Regions from separate parts of the Homo sapiens genome. Here regions 2, 3 and 4 are each linked to region 1. Evidence: promoter capture Hi-C in 16 types of primary human blood cells and fetal thymus (Javierre and others, 2016). All regions are on one chromosome and are shown on one strand. The core of a region is centred on a gene start or on the middle of the fragment in contact, and the rest is flanking DNA. Distances in the headings are between cores, read along the strand shown.

Evidence for each region. The method cuts DNA at HindIII sites, captures the fragments that hold promoters and counts their contacts. A CHiCAGO score of 5 or more calls a contact.
Region 2: a contact is called between a fragment that was not itself captured here and the fragment with the promoter of NUS1 in region 1, in 1 of 17 cell types (monocytes). The highest score is 5.0, in monocytes.
Region 3: a fragment that was not itself captured here is called in contact with the fragment with the promoter of NUS1 in region 1 in 6 of 17 cell types (total B cells, neutrophils, total CD4 T cells and 3 more); the score reaches 6.2 in total B cells.
Region 4: a fragment that was not itself captured here is called in contact with the fragment with the promoter of NUS1 in region 1 in 1 of 17 cell types (monocytes); the score reaches 5.4 in monocytes.

Annotation. Positions count from the first base shown.
Region 1 is chr6:117,673,393-117,677,632 of GRCh38, forward strand. NUS1 (NUS1 dehydrodolichyl diphosphate synthase subunit) reads left to right here and starts at 2,077. Exons shown (of 5, transcript NM_138459.5): 1 at 2,077-2,693. The coding sequence starts at 2,279. It overlaps LOC101927919 (a long non-coding RNA gene), which reads right to left and starts at 1,892. Exons shown (of 3, transcript NR_110854.1): 1 at 1,705-1,892; 2 at 1,255-1,443; 3 at 1-690. The HindIII fragment of the contact is 6,476 bases long and covers 1-4,240 here.
Region 2 is chr6:118,637,080-118,641,407 of GRCh38, forward strand. All of the region lies in intron 1 of CEP85L (centrosomal protein 85L), which reads right to left. Among named protein-coding and RNA genes, the nearest start is that of CEP85L, 12 kb to the right of the region's middle. The HindIII fragment of the contact is 4,221 bases long and covers 1-3,901 here.
Region 3 is chr6:118,559,094-118,563,534 of GRCh38, forward strand. The region is part of intron 3 of CEP85L (centrosomal protein 85L); the gene reads right to left. PLN (phospholamban) reads left to right here. Exons shown (of 2, transcript NM_002667.5): 2 at 1-2,623. Among named protein-coding and RNA genes, the nearest start is that of PLN, 13 kb to the left of the region's middle. The HindIII fragment of the contact is 1,726 bases long and covers 388-2,113 here.
Region 4 is chr6:118,580,634-118,584,978 of GRCh38, forward strand. All of the region lies in intron 2 of CEP85L (centrosomal protein 85L), which reads right to left. LOC107986524 (a long non-coding RNA gene) reads left to right here. Exons shown (of 5, transcript XR_002956384.2): 5 at 1,096-1,665. Among named protein-coding and RNA genes, the nearest start is that of PLN, 35 kb to the left of the region's middle. The HindIII fragment of the contact is 5,821 bases long and covers 1-4,345 here.

The DNA of each region.
Region 1 (4,240 bases), core at 827-3,326:
TGTGGCTAGAATCCTTTTGCTTAAGTTTGCAATTCAAAGAAATACAGGGGCCGGACGCAGTGGCTCACGCCTGTAATCCCAGCACTTTGGGAGGCCAAGGCGGGCGGATCACCTGAGGTCAGGAGTTCAAGACCAACATGGTGAAACCCCGCCTCTACTAAAAACACACAAAAAATTAGCCGGGCGTAGTGGCGGGCACCTGTAGTCCCAGCTATTCGGGAGGCTGAGGCAGGAGAACGGCGTGAACCCGGGAGGCGGAGCCTGCAGTGAGCTGAGATCGCACCACTGCCCTCCAGCCTGGGCGACTGAGCGAGACTCCGTTTCAAAAAAAAAGGAAAAAAGAAATACAGAAGATAGAGCCTGTTTGTGCCTGCACACCTGAGAGCAGGCCACGGGAACATGAGATTGATGTCTTTAATCTTGTCAGAACGGATAGACATTGGGGCAAAGAAATGAGTACGGTAGAGAAATGTGGCAACATAGTCGGCATGGGGGGTGGGGTGGGGTCTGCAGAATACGTGGCCAAATCTCAATGGGACACTGGTGTCTAGGGAGCTTCCTTAACAAGCATCATGTAGCTGCATAAACTACAGCAATGGGCAGTGAGGAAGAAGACTGTAGGCTTCCCTGATCATGGCCTTTCGCCTCTCCTTCTTTGTCCATCATCAGAGGAGCTACCGCAGAGGAGACCTGGAGAGAAAGAAGTGTGTGAAGGGTGTGCCTGGTGCCCAGCCCTCAGTTCTTCAGGCTGCACTGCCAAAGGGAGGAAAATTGCACTGCGAAAGGGAGATGGACATGAGATTCAACTTTTAAAGTAAAGTTAAATGAGTCTTAGAAACCAAAATGAGACTAGTTGAAAAAGTGACAATGTTAGAAAAATTAAGTCACATAGCCAAGACGTGAACAGATGTTTCCCAGGGGGAAAAAGAGGCTTTAGCGAACAAAGAATAGGTAGGTATTACAAAAACGCAACTGTTTACACACACACACGTGTGTAAATATGTGTGTATACGTGTGTATGTGTACAGTTGCATTTTTGTAATACCTCCCTAATCTTTATATATATACTTATATAAATATAAATGCAAATAATATAAATATTATTGTTGCACACACACATATATATGATGATAGAGGATGTAGCATGTAGGATAAACCTTGAGAAATGGGTTGGAATGTCGGCAATACCAAGTCGGGAATCAGGAATTCAGGAGAAGAGCTTGAACAAAAAGGGCAAAGACAGTACAGACTTACCGCGGGGAAGTACAAAACCATTCTAGAGGACCACGTCGAAGTCCACATGGACAGAAACATTAGGGTGTTAAAGGGGATGATAAGGCTTGGATGGGCAGTTTGCTTCAAATAGTGGCGGTCATTGAAGTCAGGCACAATTTCTATTTTTTTTCCCCACTGTAAACCTAACCCACGGCGGTTGGTCAAAGTCTTGCCGAATAAAAAAAAAAAAAAAAAAAAAGAATTAAGTGACTGGACTGCCAAGCTGTAGAGCCTCTATTAAGCAATGTACAGCCAGGAAAGGATACCTTAGATGAGAATGACATGGGTAGAGGGGTGTTTCAGGAACATGGCTAAAGAGCCTCGCTCCCAGCCTCAGCCGGGAGGCTGAATAAAGGACAGTAGCAGGATCACTCCAGCCTTTGAGGACACTTTTGGAAACCCTGGTGGATTCCCAGCATCAACACTTACTGAGGGCTGCTTTCCATCCCTAGGTTCTTTCCGGCATTTGTAATTTCCAATCCACTTAGGACACTTCTACTCCTCAGAAACCGTTTCTGTCGGGGCCGTGAGAGGAGACAGTATAAGACTTCCTGGACCCAAGGGACGCCGGGTCCCCTGGAAGCGCCCATCGCATTGAAGACCACGTGTGCCTTGCTGGGGTCCCATTCAGACAAGTCCCGGGTCGTTCGCTCATCGCCCTCCACGCGACCAGGGGGCGCCCGCGGTATCGGCCCGGCTAGTTCGCAGGCGTGCGCCTTCCCTCACTGCGCCGGAACGGGCCACGTTCTCGGACCCAGAAGCCGCGTCAGAATTCCACGCTGGCCAATCGGAACTGTCCATGTACTACTGGGGGCGGGGCTGCCAAGGGAGGAGGAAGATGGCGGCGGGGGCGAGGTGAGGTGTTGGCAGTGGAAAGGGGTTCGGGCTCGGGGGGCGGGGGGACGCGGAGCGATGGCCCGCGCCGGCCGCAGGGGCGGATAAAAAGCCGTCGCGCTGCGGGAGTGGGCGGGAGGGAGAGGGGGTGTCTGAGGGCCACAAGAGTATGACGGGGCTGTACGAGCTGGTGTGGCGGGTGCTGCACGCGCTGCTCTGTCTGCACCGCACGCTCACCTCCTGGCTCCGCGTTCGGTTCGGCACCTGGAACTGGATCTGGCGGCGCTGCTGCCGCGCCGCCTCTGCCGCGGTCCTAGCGCCGCTCGGCTTCACGCTCCGCAAGCCCCCGGCAGTCGGCAGGAACCGCCGTCACCACCGGCACCCGCGCGGGGGGTCGTGCCTGGCAGCCGCACACCACCGGATGCGCTGGCGCGCGGACGGTCGTTCCTTGGAGAAGCTGCCTGTGCATATGGGCCTGGTGATCACCGAGGTGGAGCAGGAACCCAGCTTCTCGGACATCGCGAGCCTCGTGGTGTGGTGTATGGCCGTGGGCATCTCCTACATTAGCGTCTACGACCACCAAGGTGAGGCCCGGTGCGGTGGTGGGGGGTGGCCGAGGCGTCTTGGACCGCTAGACCGCTGGTCTGGCGGGTGGTGCCCATGGCACGAGTTGCCGCGGCCTCTCTGCAAATCACAGCGCTAGCGCTTTCGAGGAAGGGAGATCAGCTTTATTGAACACCTACTAATTCTCTGGATTTGACTCAGTAGCTTTTTAACATTTTAAAAATATCCCTTGGCCGGGCGCGGTGGCTCATGCCTGTAATCCCAGCACTTTGGGAGGCCGAGGCGGACGGATCACCTGAGGTCGGGAGTTCGAGACCAGCCTGACTAACATGGAGAAACCCCGTTTCTACTAAAAATACAAGTTTAGTCGGGCGTGGTGGCATATGCCTGTAATCCCAGCTACTAGGGAGGCTGAGGCAGGAGAATCGCTGGAACCCGGGAGGCGGAGGTTGTGGTGAGCCGAGATCGCGCCACTGCACTCCAGCCTGGGCAACAAGAGCGAAACTCTGTCTCAAATAAGTAAATAAATAAATAAAAATAAATAAAAAATCTCTTATTCGTTATAATACTGCAGTAATGTAGATGGTATTTGTATACCCTTGCCAAGGTTTAAAAACATTAACTGATTTGCCCAAGGCCACAAGATCGTAATGGGGCCACAAAGATCGGAATGAGGATATTGGAATTTTAGCCATTCTGTGCTTTTTCACAATCTTTGCCTTTGGTTACACCACACTGTTTCTTTAAGAGAGCTTCCAGGCGCTGTTCTTAAGTCGCAGTGAGGCTATAGAGGACTTAGGCATGGGCTGTGTGATAGGTACTGCAAATGGGAGCGGTGGGGGTCAGGTGGTATTTGAACTGGGTTTATGAAAAATATGTGAGAGATTGGATAGGCAGAAAAGAAAATGGTCCCTTTCTGTCTTGGAAGGCTGGGATGGTTTGTGATCCTTCATCATCAGTGCCCAACACAGTACTTGATAGAATTGTCCTCTCATATGTTTTGATTGAGGGAATGAATTTCACCATAGGGAGTTTTTGTAAGTACAAAAATTCAGTACTTATTGGGTAGCTACAAACCTAAAGCACTGTGCTAGGCATATTCCTTGGAATCTTGCATTTAATTCCATGGACTCTCAGGCTTGTTAGGAGGTAGGCACACACTCACATATTTGACATGGTTAATAACAAGAAGTGTTGAGAGTAAAATTACTATTGTGAGAAGAGAGGAGAGAAATTGTGAATGAAGGAACTTGAGAAGTTCATGCAGTGGAGGTGGGATTTAAGCAGGACCTTGAAGAATAGGTAGGAGATAAGTTGAGGAATACTCAGGTTTGGGATGTCAGGTTTGATTTTCAATCAGATCTTGAAAGCATTGGAATTTCTTTAAAGATGTGAGAAGAATGATTTAAGAGTATTGGTATGAAGGGAAGAAAACAAAAGTTTTATTCTCTGTTCAATAAATTACCTGTGTGCTCTAGAGAGGCATACATCTTTGTCAGATTGGTAAATTTAAGTGCAGGGTTTTGTCAGAAAGGGAAGGCATAGGCCAGACAGTAACGCTTACAGG
Region 2 (4,328 bases), core at 541-3,040, 960 kb after region 1:
TCTACTCAATATGATACCTATTCCACAGATTTCCAAAGCACATCAGTACAATCTCAACTATCTGTTATCTAACTTTTATACAAAAAAAGCTATAAGAAATGACAGAGAAAATGGTCTAAGACATGCTATCATTCCGCCCCTCTAGAAACCCTAAATTCTATCTTTGAATCACAGAGCAGTACATACATACTTAGAGCCTTTTTATTTAGCAACTCAGGGAAATGATCTTCCTAAAATTTCTTTCAGTGTACTGCCACCTTATAAACTTGAACCTCTGACTTTTACAGAAGGACACAAAAAGTAAGCAAACCACATAAATCATCAAATTGTTGTCTAGGCCGGGCAAGGTGGCTCACACCTGTAATCCCAGCACTTTGGGAGGCCAACGCTGGCAGACAGCTTGAGTTCAAGAGTTTAAGACCAGCCTGGAAAACATGGCAAAAGCCCATCTCTACAAAAGAAAAAAAAAAAAAAATTCAAAAAAATGCCTCTGTGCATGGTGGCACATGCCTGTAGTCTCAGCTACCTGGGAAGCTAAGCTACTTGAACCCAGGAGGTGGAGGCTGCAGTAAGCCGAGATCATGCCACTACACTCCAGCCTGGGTAATAAAGCAAGACTGTCTCAAAAAAAAAAAAAAAAAAAAAAAGTTGTCTATATATTTAAGAAGTTAAAGGCAAACACTAAAAATATTTGCAGATATGGTATTAATGCATAATTATAAAGAGATCATAAGCAAACTAAAAATAAATAAATAAATACTAAATGGTTTAGTCTAAATGGACAAAGGACAAACCCCAAAGGGAAAAACACAAATAAAAAATTCTGAAAAATAGTCCAAGCCCACTGGTAAGCAAGTAGTATCAAATTCAGAAGACATGCTATTTTTCAGCTATCAATCTAGCAAAAATGTTAAAAGAACAAAACAACAGTGTTCCTAGATACTCCCATACACTGATAATGGTAATGTTAATTTATTCATTACAAAAACACAACCTTTTGATAGGCTATTAGGCAATATACATCATGTGTAGCACATGCCTGTAATACCAGCTACTCAGGAAGCCAAGGTAAGATTGCTTAAGCCCAGGAGTTCGAGACCAGCCTGGGCAACATAGTGAGACCGTCTCAAAAAAAAAAAAAGGAAAAGAATTAACTATATAAATTGATCTCCTCCCACCTGAACTAATTTGCCTTAACCTTTAAACATAACTATGTCTTTAAAAAGAAGATCTGGTATTGTATGTGCCTCAAACACTGAAGATGATTAACAAATGTCATGAAAATAACATTCTAATCTTTTAATTTAAACTGAAAAAATTCACAGTCTGAAAAGAATGACATGACTTGTCTTTAGACAAGTCAATCCAGAAGCACAATACAGGAAGAAGTACATGTGAAATATGCTGACCAGGTGATTTAATAAGGAAAATTTTCTCACAGAATAGTTACAAGACTATGTTACTGAAATGGGAATATTGATATCTAGTATGCAATATGCACTTAAAAACTCAAAATAAGGCTGAATAACCTCTGGCAATAATGTCTTACCTAAAGACAAAAGGACTGCTGTAAGAACAGCAAAGATCCCAAGAAACTCTACATTGGAACTCCTCCTTGGAAGACAATATGTTACATTTTTCAATACTAATTTTTTAATACTAATTTTAATTATTTTAATAGAATACTGAGTGCCTGCGGATAACATTAAAAATTCTGAATATTTCTCAGACAGGAAGATTAGCATTAAATAAAAAAGCAACCTATTTTACTTCTGAAGCTCTTTTATTGGAAGCAAAAATGCATACAGTATCAAGTATTCCACAGCATTTGAATATATATGTAACTGCACTGAGAACAAGAACTACTCTCATTGAATATTTTAATGACAGCTCTAAATTGAAGAAAATAAAAATAACACTACTGACAAAGCAGATTTATACTTTTAAATAAGCTGAATACATAATACAAATCGAGAATACAAATTGCAATGTTTTTCAGAATGCAGATTATCTGTCACCCATTAGTATGTTTTAAAATCAACTTGGAAACCAACACTTTCAAATAAAATAGTAGATAAAGCATGTTTACCCTTATATTACATAAGTAGCACGCGGTTCACATTTTAACATCTCTGAAATATTAACAAGTACTTTTGCACAAAGAACCTATTCTGCTGCTGGAATAACTCCACTCAAGCCAGCCTCTACTCTACTATCTTCTAGAATCAAGCATGTTTATGTTATTCTTCTACTTACATAGATCTGTGAGCCCCTTACGGCATATTAAATAAATTCAAACTCCTTAAGTTAGGCAAAGTTCTTCACCAATTGTCAGCTTCACTTTGCAACTTCTACCTACAAAAACTATCTAGCCACACTTACCTAATCACTTCCTCCAAACAGATGAGACTCTTTCATGACTCCAAGCTGTTTCACTTCTGCACCTTAAGAGTCCTAGTTCAGAATTAACTTGTTCTGTCTTCCCTGATTCCTCCAGGTGGCATTAAATACTTTGTTCACTCCCAATATATTATTCAAAATTCCAACAACATTTAATAAATTATATTAACCCATATGTATATGACTTTCTTCTCCCTCACCAAACTGTGAAAAATGAAAGGCAACTTTTTTTAGTGTCCAGTACCTAGCAAAGAGCTGCACACTTATACAGGGTCTCAATAAATGTAGTCATTATAACCACTGGATACCTAACAAATGTTCACAGAATAAAATTAGAATTTTGGAAGCCTTACAATTACAACTACAAAAATATCTTTGTGTTCAGAAAAAGGATTCAAACAAGCGTTTTGTTTGGTGGTTGTTGTCTGCTTATTTTAAAATCCAGGATATTTTAAACTATCCCTTGAGCCAGTATGCATTTAAGTATCTATTTAGAGATCAGTAAATATTTATCAATGCAGCTTTTTTTAAGGTAATTTTAAATAATTTAGAGATCTGATGGCCAACATTCCTAACATGGGAAAACAGTCTCCAATAGGTTAAAAAGACACAAAACTCACACAAAAAATTAGAACATTAAACGGTAAGAAAAAAACGTTCATATTAACAGTAGCCAAACAGAAAAAACCAACAAATCTGGAACTACACTGCAGAATATCTAGCTAAGATGACAGAAACATCACATAGTGTTATTTTCTCCATCCCAATCCTCCACTCCATTTCAGTACTATTTATCTCTAGGGTAAGTGACTCCAATAGTCTTAGTTTGTTTCTTTTATCACAGAATTACCAGTATAGCTCAGTGTGCACTGTGAAACCAGGCTACCTGGGTTCAAGTTCATTCTACCTCTTATTAGCAGTAAGTCCTCATAAATCACTTAACCTCTCTGTGCCTCAATTTCTTCATATGTAAGAGAAGAAAAAAATTATAGAATAGTACCTATATTATAGGGTTGTTGTGATCAATGAACATGTAAAGTTTTTTGTTGTTGTTATTGTTTTTGAGACAGAGCCTCTCTCAGTTGCCCAGGATGGAGTGCAGTAGTGCAGTCTCGGCTCACTGCAACATTCATCCCCCAGGTTCAAGAGATTCTCCTGCCTCAGCCTCCCAAGTTGTGCGGATTACAGGCACACACCACCATGTCTGGCTAATTTTTTAGGTTTTTTTTAAGTAGAGATGGGGTTTCGCCATGTTGGCCAGGCTGGTCTCGAACTCCTGACCTCAAGTGATCCGCCTGCTCAGCCTCCCAAAGTACTGGGATTACAGGCGTGAGCCACTGCACCTGGCCTGTAAATATATTTTTGAAAGTGCCAGACATATAATTAGGATCTCAATAAATGTTATTATTTTTATTACTGTCCATGCATAGAAATTTTCCAGAAGGATAACTAAAAACTATTAAAAATGGAGTGGAGGACTGACATGAAAGGTAGATAAAAAAGCTTACTTCACTTTAAGCTTTTCTGTACTGAGTCAACATTTTACTGAGCATGTGTAACTTTAATAATGAGAAGAAAAAAATCATCTGACAAATACCACATAACAATAATTCTTCTGCTCCTCATGAGGTACAGTACCCCACTCTCTTCCAAGTTTTTAACCTTGCTCTTTTCCCTCCCTATTTAATCAAGGACATCTACACTGTCACCAGCTTCTCTCTTAATATCTTACTAGCATGTTTACAACTACTTATCTCCTTCAAAACACAAACCCAATGCCCATCTCTCTGATAACCACCACTTTTTTAACATCATTCCAAGAGATTAAGCATAAGCTTTCTATCTCTATGATCTGCAAAGTGAATACATGCATGCCAGGGAGTACACGAGCCAATCCACTGGCAAGCTGCTGGAAGAAAAAAACTTGT
Region 3 (4,441 bases), core at 1-2,500, 880 kb after region 1:
CCTCTAGATCTGCAGCTTGCCACATCAGCTTAAAATCTGTCATCCCATGCAGACAGGAAAACAATATTGTATAACAGACCACTTCCTGAGTAGAAGAGTTTCTTTGTGAAAAGGTCAAGATTAAGACTAAAACTTATTGTTACCATATGTATTCATCTGTTGGATCTTGTAAACATGAAAAGGGCTTTATTTTCAAAAATTAACTTCAAAATAAGTGTATAAAATGCAACTGTTGATTTCCTCAACATGGCTCACAAATTTCTATCCCAAATCTTTTCTGAAGATGAAGAGTTTAGTTTTAAAACTGCACTGCCAACAAGTTCACTTCATATATAAAGCATTATTTTTACTCTTTTGAGGTGAATATAATTTATATTACAATGTAAAAGCTTCTTTAATACTAAGTATTTTTCAGGTCTTCACCAAGTATCAAAGTAATAACACAAATGAAGTGTCATTATTCAAAATAGTCCACTGACTCCTCACATCTGTTATCTTATTATAAAGAACTATTTGTAGTAACTATCAGAATCTACATTCTAAAACAGAAATTGTATTTTTTCTATGCCACATTAACATCTTTTAAAGTTGATGAGAATCAAGTATGGAAAAGTAAGGCCATACTCTTACATAATAAAATTCCTTTTAAGTAATTTTTTCAAAGAATCACAGAATTCTAGTACATGTAGGTAAATCATAAATCTGTTCTAAGACATATGATCAACAGATGAGAACTGGTGGTTAATATGTGACAGTGAGATTAGTCATATCACTAATATACTAACAACAGAATCTAATCTTCATTTAAGGCACTGTAGTGAATTATCTGAGCTAGAGTTACCTAGCTTACCATACTATATCTTTGGAATCATGAAACCTTAAGACTTCAGAATGATTTTGCAGGTTGTCTTCCATTCCAGCCTAACATCCAATGCAGGCAAGGAAAATAAAAGATTTCCAGTGACAGAAAAATATATTATCTCAAGTATTTTTTAAAAATATATGAATTCTCTCTCCAAATATTAACTAATTATTAGATTATATTTTGAAATGAACTTGTTGGCCCATCTATTACATCTACAGCTGACCCTTGAACATGGGGGTTAGGGGAGCTGACAATTCGTGGGTCCGCAAAATCTTAACTACCTAATAGCCTACTATTGACCATAAACCTTACTGATAACATAAACAGTAAATTAACACATATTTTGCGTGTTATATGTATTATACACTATATTCCTACAATAAAGTAAGCTAGAGAAAATGTTATTTAGAAAATCATAAGAAAGAGAAAATATATTTACTATTCATTAAATGGAAGTGGGTCAACATAAAAGTCTTCATTCTCATTGTCTTCACATTGAGTAGGCAGAGGAGGAGAAAGATGGGGAGGAAGAGAAGGCGTTGGTCTTGCAGTCTTGTCTTAGGGGTGTGGGGAGTGGGGGAAAGAATATTCATGTATAAGTGGACCCTTGCAATTCAAGCCCTTGTTGTTCAAGGGTCAACTGTAATAGGATATAGCTATTTTTCTTCCTCTATCAACCAAATGGTAAGCATCTATTTTGCAGTCCACTCTACTGAGCTAAATTATAGATCCAGCTATGCTATTTATAATTATTTTCTTGATGAATAAATTTTCAATTTCTCCTCTGACCATTTCAGAACATCTTCCAATAACTCATAAAACAACTGAAGTAAAATTGAGTGCTGGAAAATATATTCACCAAACTTTGGTAATTTAAGTTGACTAAAGTTTAAAATTAAGTCTAAAATAGTTTACACCTATACTGCATAATCCAACAATTTTAATTTCAGTTGAAGACATGTTACTAATATAACTATTATTAAAAGAGTAGAGGATGTGTAATTAACCATATCTTCTAAAACATGGTTACTAAAAGAATATGTAACATCAATATTGACCTTGGTTTCTTACACAAGTGTTGCTAACTCAATAGTGAAGGAGACACTATTAAATTTTCTGAACCCATGAGAGATACTAGAGATGGGGAGTGGAAAGTGTTTGGTTCAGGGATATCTGAAGAACAGAAGGGCAGAGATTTCTTAAGTGACGCCTCATCTACAAGCTGGAAATTCCTAAAAACAAGTAGAAAGCTTATAAACAACAGGTGATACACTCACCTCACTGGTTTTAGTAAATTACCAATACAGAAAGTATCCCTAGTCTTAAAAACAAGTGGAAAATTTGAACTGATTAGTCATATTCCTTTGATTACACTGTTTGTTACAATATTTTTCTCAGTAAACAGAAATAACTAATTTTTTTGTTCTTCATTCTTTGATAGAAATTAAAATCTTATTCTGTGAGGATTACAGAATACTATAACTCAAATTATAAAGTAGAATAAACTCTTTAAATAATTATTCTTCATCATAAAGTGTAAAGAATAAGATATAAGAAAACAATTTATTTTTAAAATTTAATATACTAAATGCTCAAATATGTTCTACTATAGAATAAGTTCTTATCTTAATTTACAGGGCACTAAAAACAATTTTAAAATGCTTAATGTTGCCTTTTATATTTTAATTGGTTAAGAATATATATTTGTTTAATGCAAATCAGAATCACTATATTAAAATGAATGTTCTTGAAAACTCAGTGGGGCTGCTCTATAATACACTTACAATTGATACTAACGATAAAACGCTCTAATTATAGTTTTAATTTTATAGGGGTTTTTTTGGTGACTTTCCCCAAATAAAACAAAATCAAGACGCCCAAGTCCAGACACACAAGAGGGCAGACGTATATAAGATAACAAATTGCTACTACATAGCGATTATTTATCTTTTGATTATTTTTGAGACTTCTGGCAAAGTAGGACTATAATAAATTTTCAGAAAAGATCTGCTCTTCTGCTAAGTAACAGCACACTTCAAAATGTCCAGAAATTTTATGCTAATATTACATAGAAAACTTGACAGATGAAAAAAGTGAAACACATTACTAATTTTATTCATTAAAACAGGTATATAAAAGTCCTCTTTAACTACCTAATGAATGTGTCATATCCTAATATAGGGAGTGTCATAGTGTTCACATCTTTGAATATATAAATTATCTCAAACAGTTAAAAAATTAAAGCCAGAACAGGGTACAAAAATAAGAATAAAAATAAGAAAACTTTCTGTTCACAGGACGTAACAGAATACTTTAAACACTCTCAAGTTATAAATAAAACTTTTTCATTATTATTTCATGTTAGACAAAAAACAAGTCATTTTACTTTAACTCATTTTATCAATTTTTTTTTTTTAAATCAAGAGACAGGGTGTTACTCTGTCATGCAGGCTGGAATGCAGTCACATGATCATTGCACACTGCAGCCTTGAACTCTTGGGGTGCAAAGGATTCTCCAACCTTGGTTCCCAAGTAGCTGGCACTACAGGGGCACATCACCATATATGGCTAATTCTTTTTATTTTTTGTAGAGATGGGGTCTCATTGCCCAGGCTGGTCCCAAACTCCTATCCTCAAGCTATCCACCCCCCATCAGCCTCCCAAAGTGTTGGGATTACAGGGGTGAGCTACCATGCTTGGTCCAAATTTTTTGTTTATACAAGGGAAAATCTCCAGTAAAATATGTATAGGTGCCAATACCATAACTGTTCAAACACCCTTATGACTAAATAGGCACAAAATTTCATCTTTTTAATGACTGCCACCTGAAGTTCAGAAACATCCTAGGGAAAAAAGGATAAACAACTTCATCAATAAAGAGGCTACTATTATTTCACTACTGTCTGGGAGATCCATCGTGGGCTTACAGGAATCCAAATGGATACTGCCGTTACGTGTAGAAGTGTTTATCCTCCATCCCTTCCACCCTACCTTCCCCAAGAAAAGGAACTCAAGGGGGCCATGGAAAGGGAAGGAGTCTTCCCAAAAAGACCAGACTGTTTTTCCTCCTCTGTCATAGTCCCTATAGAGTCAGGCAGCTTAGGGGTTGCAGGGGGTGGGTAGCATAAGTGTGATGTACTACCGAGGAAAGAGTCAAAGACTAGCAGTAGGCATTACACATGGAGCCTTCTGTCATAAACCATCTGAGGGCATAATGGCTTCTTTTCATTCACAAAGGAAAATGATTCAGAGTACTACACTCCTGCACTCTTGATGATTTAGCAGAAAACCATGGAAATCAAGGAACAACACACACATAAGAATGTGTGTCTGGCTCAATAATTATTCTGGACTAAGTCCTAGGAAGAGCAAACCTTCAATGTTACAAATTAACCTGGGGAGTGGGGAGCTGTGAGAATCAAATGAGATAAAATACTGTGAAAGCTACAGAATTCTATAACATATAAATCTAAGGTTTTATTAGATTATGACTTTCAGCCAAATTCCTTTTCTTAGTTGTAAAAATATTGTTTTTTCATGGTGAGTGTTTAGGAGTTGTGCTTGCAAATCACAATT
Region 4 (4,345 bases), core at 874-3,373, 910 kb after region 1:
CGCAAGGCTGGGAAAAGTTCTGAGGCAACTGAGCATCTCTGGGCAGGGCACACCCTGGTGTGACTCAAAGACCTCTGGACCAGACCCAGCCTCCAACAGCCCATTTCAGGTGCTGGCAGAGAATCCTCAGCTATCCGGTCATGAAACTTTCCTTCCTTTTCTATCTGTGGTCTCTTACTCTGTGTGTATGTGTCAACTGTGTGGGAATTTAGTAACCGGGAGTTTAACTCAAGAATGCCATTGCAATCTCCTGAACAGAGGGTTCCTCCGGGACAGTGAGCCTCTCTCTCTCAGCCCCTTGGTCTGGAGAGCACACGGCATTTCCAGGTCTCTCTACCGCTTGTCTGAGGAGCACACAGTATTTCTAAGCCAACAGTGCCACCTAGAGGAAACAGAAATCCTCTACATGAGGCACTTTTTTTAATGCTAACACTGCAGCTTCCTTTTGCACTGCTAGAAATCAGGCTCTAAGCCTCTTCCAGGAATGGGAAAATTCTGCTTTCAACAGTTAGAAATTAAATGTCTTCCATAGCCAAATTTTAGTCTCAATATTGTCCCATCAGCAGGAAAACAGCCATTTGGTTCCTACATTTCTTTAAGTCACCTATTCTGTCTCCAACAGAGACAGTACTTAATTAGTAAGGGGATTTTAAGTCTGGAAGTTAACTGAAACCATTTTTCTAAGGGTAAATGCTTTAGCATGGGCCATAATAGCAGGATATAGAGTTCAATCTAGCATAACCCCTCCATTAAAGGGGCCTTCCCCAATTACACAGTTTTCCCTGAGATCCATTTTTTTTTAGGGAGGTACACAGGTCACACAAGTCTAGGAGGTCAAAGGGAAATAACAAGCAGAGGACTGGGACTACTTGGGTAAGTGTGACTAGGCCTCAAAAGTCTAGTTTCTCTGGTGCCATGGCTTGGAGGGTCACACCTACAGCCACAGGCGGCACATTTAACTGGGTGCCGGGACCCAGGAACCAGGGAGGGAGACTAGTTAGAGGAATGCCCCCTACTGTTTTCTTCTCCACCCTGAGTCATACACCAAAAGGAAGGAGACTAAAAGGACACTTTTATTCTCACTTCTCTTTCTAGATGGCCAACAGATCGTCTTCAGCATGCACTCCTCTGGAATGTATTTTAAAGCACTGGGACTCCTTCAACCCTGAGACTTTGAAAAAAAAGTGACTCATATTCTATTGCACAAGAGCATAGCCTTCTTACTATCTTGGGGACAGATAAACCTGGCCCGCTGCGGGGAGCCTTGATTTTAATATTATCCAACAGTTAGATCTTTTCTCCAAACAGAAGGGCAAATGGACTGAGATCCCCTATGTACAGACTTTCTTTGCCCTGTGAAACAGCCCAGACCTTTACAAGTTCTGTACAATTGACCCAGTTCTTTTAGCGGCCACAGGGAATCGTTCCCCAGAGCTAAAGCAGGTTCCAGAGGAGCAATCTGAAACAGCTATTGAATGTCCCAATCCTTCCAGTCCCCCTCCAATCATACTATCAGCTCCTCCAGCTCCACTATCTCCAGTATATCCTACTCTCCCCGCTTCATTCTTACCTCTGCAGGAAATGGCTGATAGGAATGGTGCCATGAGGGTTCAAGTTTCCTTCTCATTACAGGACCTTAAGCAAATAAACAGAGACTTGGCCCAATTTTCTGATGACTCCGATAAGTATATAGAAATTTTCCAAAATTTAACTCAGGTGTTTGATCTCACATAGAGGGATGTTATGTTGCTGCTAAGTCAGACCCTCACTGGGGCTGAAAAGCCAGCAGTTCCACAGGCAGCAGAAAAATATGGATATAAGCAACATGCCTCCTGTAGCAGACCAAGGAGAAAAAGAGGAGACAAGGAAGGTAAGGAAGAAGTGGAAACTCCATTCCCACTAGGAAGGGAAGCAGTTCCAGCGGACAACCCTGATTGGAACCCCAATAACGCAGGAAATGAATGGAAAAGGAAGCACTTCTTAAGGTCTATGTTAGAGGGCCTATGGAAGACCAGGGCCAAACCTCTCGATTACTCTAAACTATCTATGATAGACCAGATGAGAATCCCACAGCCTTTATGGAAAGGCTAAGAGAGGCACTAATAAAACACACCTCTTTATCATGATTCAGTCGAGGGACAGCTAATCCTGAAGGACAAGTTTATTACACAGTCAGCTCCCGATATTGGAAAGAAACTACAGAAACAAGCTATAGGACCAGATAGCACCCTAGAGAACCTCCTGAGAATAGCCACTTCAGTCATTTACAATACAGATCAGGAGGAGGCCCAAGAAAAGGAAAGGAAATATAAGTGAAGAACAGAGGCTCTAGTAGCAGCATTGCACGCTTGTAAAGTCCAGGATCCCTGAGGTGCATCTGCTAGCTGTTATCAATGTGGCAAGTCAGGGCATTTTAAGAGGGAATGCCCAGGCAGCAAGACGAAGCCACCTTGACCCTGTCCAGCCTGTGGCGGAGACCACTGGAGATGGATCTGCCCCCAGAGGCAGAGGTCGCTGGGTTCAGAACCAGTCTCATAGATGGTCCAGCAGGACTGACGGGTCCCGAGGCTTAAACCCCCGGCTCCAGCGACTCAGACTGCCATTACAGCACAGGAACCCTGAGTGATTCTGGAAATTGAAGGAAGGAAGGTAGATCTCCTTCTGGATACTGAAGCCAGTCTCTTGCTCCTCCTCTCTAATTCAGGCCTCCCCTCTTCCCAGAGCACAACCATAAGGGGTGTATCACGAAAAACTCTAACCCAATATTTTTCTCAACCCCTTTTGCAGATGGGGAGACTTACTATTTAAACATGCCTTTTTAATCACGCCTGAAAGTCCCACTCCTTTATTAGGTAGATATATTCTAGCTTGCATGGGGGCCTGCAGCATCTTTACAGCCCCAGGACAAACTCTATCTCCCCCTGATGGAAGCTAACATTAATGTGGAAGTGTGGGCAACTTAAGGAAGAATAGGTTGAGCTATAACCACTACGCCAGTCCAGATCTATCTTAAGGATCCCACTTCTTTTCCTAACCAGAGATATTATCCCTAAGGCCAGTGGCTAGGAAAGGGCTAGAAGCCATTATTAATAACCTAAAGATGCAGGGCCTCCTCAAACCCTGTAATAGCCCCTGCAACACCCCAATATTAGGAGCACAGAAACCCAATGGGGAATGAAGCCTGGTTCAGGACCTTCGCCTCATTAATGAAGCTGTAGTTCCAATCCATCCAGTGGTCCCTAATCCCTATACCCTGTTAACTCAAATACCTGAGGGAACTAAATGGTTTACAGTCCTAGATTTAAAGGATGCCTTTTTCTGTACACCGTTACATCCTGACTGTCAATACCGGTTTGCCTTCAAATATTCCTCCAGCCAGACGCCCAGTTAACACTGACGGTGCTGCCTCAGGGATTTTGAAATAGTCCTCATCTGTTTGGACAGGCACTGTCACAAGACCTCTCTGAGTTCTCTCAACCTTAAGTTAAGGTCTTGCAGTATGTTGATGATATTCTGCTATGTGCCCCAACTGAGGATGCTTTTCAGGAAGGCACTGAAGCTCTTCTCAATATGTTAGCTAACAGAGAATATAAAGTTTCAAAACCCAAGGCCCAGCTCTGCAAAACCTCAGTGAAGTACACCTAGGCTTAGTGCTGTCTGAGGGGACCAGAGCATTAGGGAAGGAGGGAGTTGAGAATATTTCTTCCTTTCCCCTCCCCAAAACCCTCAAGCAACTCAGAGGATTTTGGGGCATTACAGGATTTTGTAGACTATGGATACCTGGGTATGGTGAAATAGGCTGTCCATGATATAACCTCATAAAATAAACTCAAGGAACTAAAACTCATCTTTTAACCTGGGAATCTGAAGCTCAAAAGGCCTTTGACCAGCTAAAGCAAGCCTTGCTTAAGGCACCAACTTTCACCCTTCCTATAGGGAAGGACTTCAATCTGTATGTATCAGAAAAGAAGGGAATGGCCCTGGGAGTATTAACACAGGCCCAAAGACCAGGCCAACAGCCAGTGGGTTGCCTAAGTAAGGAACTTGAGTTGGTGGCTAAAGGATGGCCAGCATGCCTCCCCGCCATTGCCTCAGTGGCTCTGTTGGTCCCAGAAGCCTCCAAATTAACTCTGGAAAATGATTTAACTATTTATGCCCCACCTAACGTGGCAGGACTACTGCACTTTTGGGGGAGCCTTTGGCTAACAGATAGCTGACTTCTTAAATATCAGGCCCTGCTGTTAAAGGGTTCCAACATCCAATTAAAGAATTGTTCTCACCTAAATCCAGCCGCCTTCCACCAGGAGGAAACTGGGGAATCTGAGCATGACTATGAACAAATCAT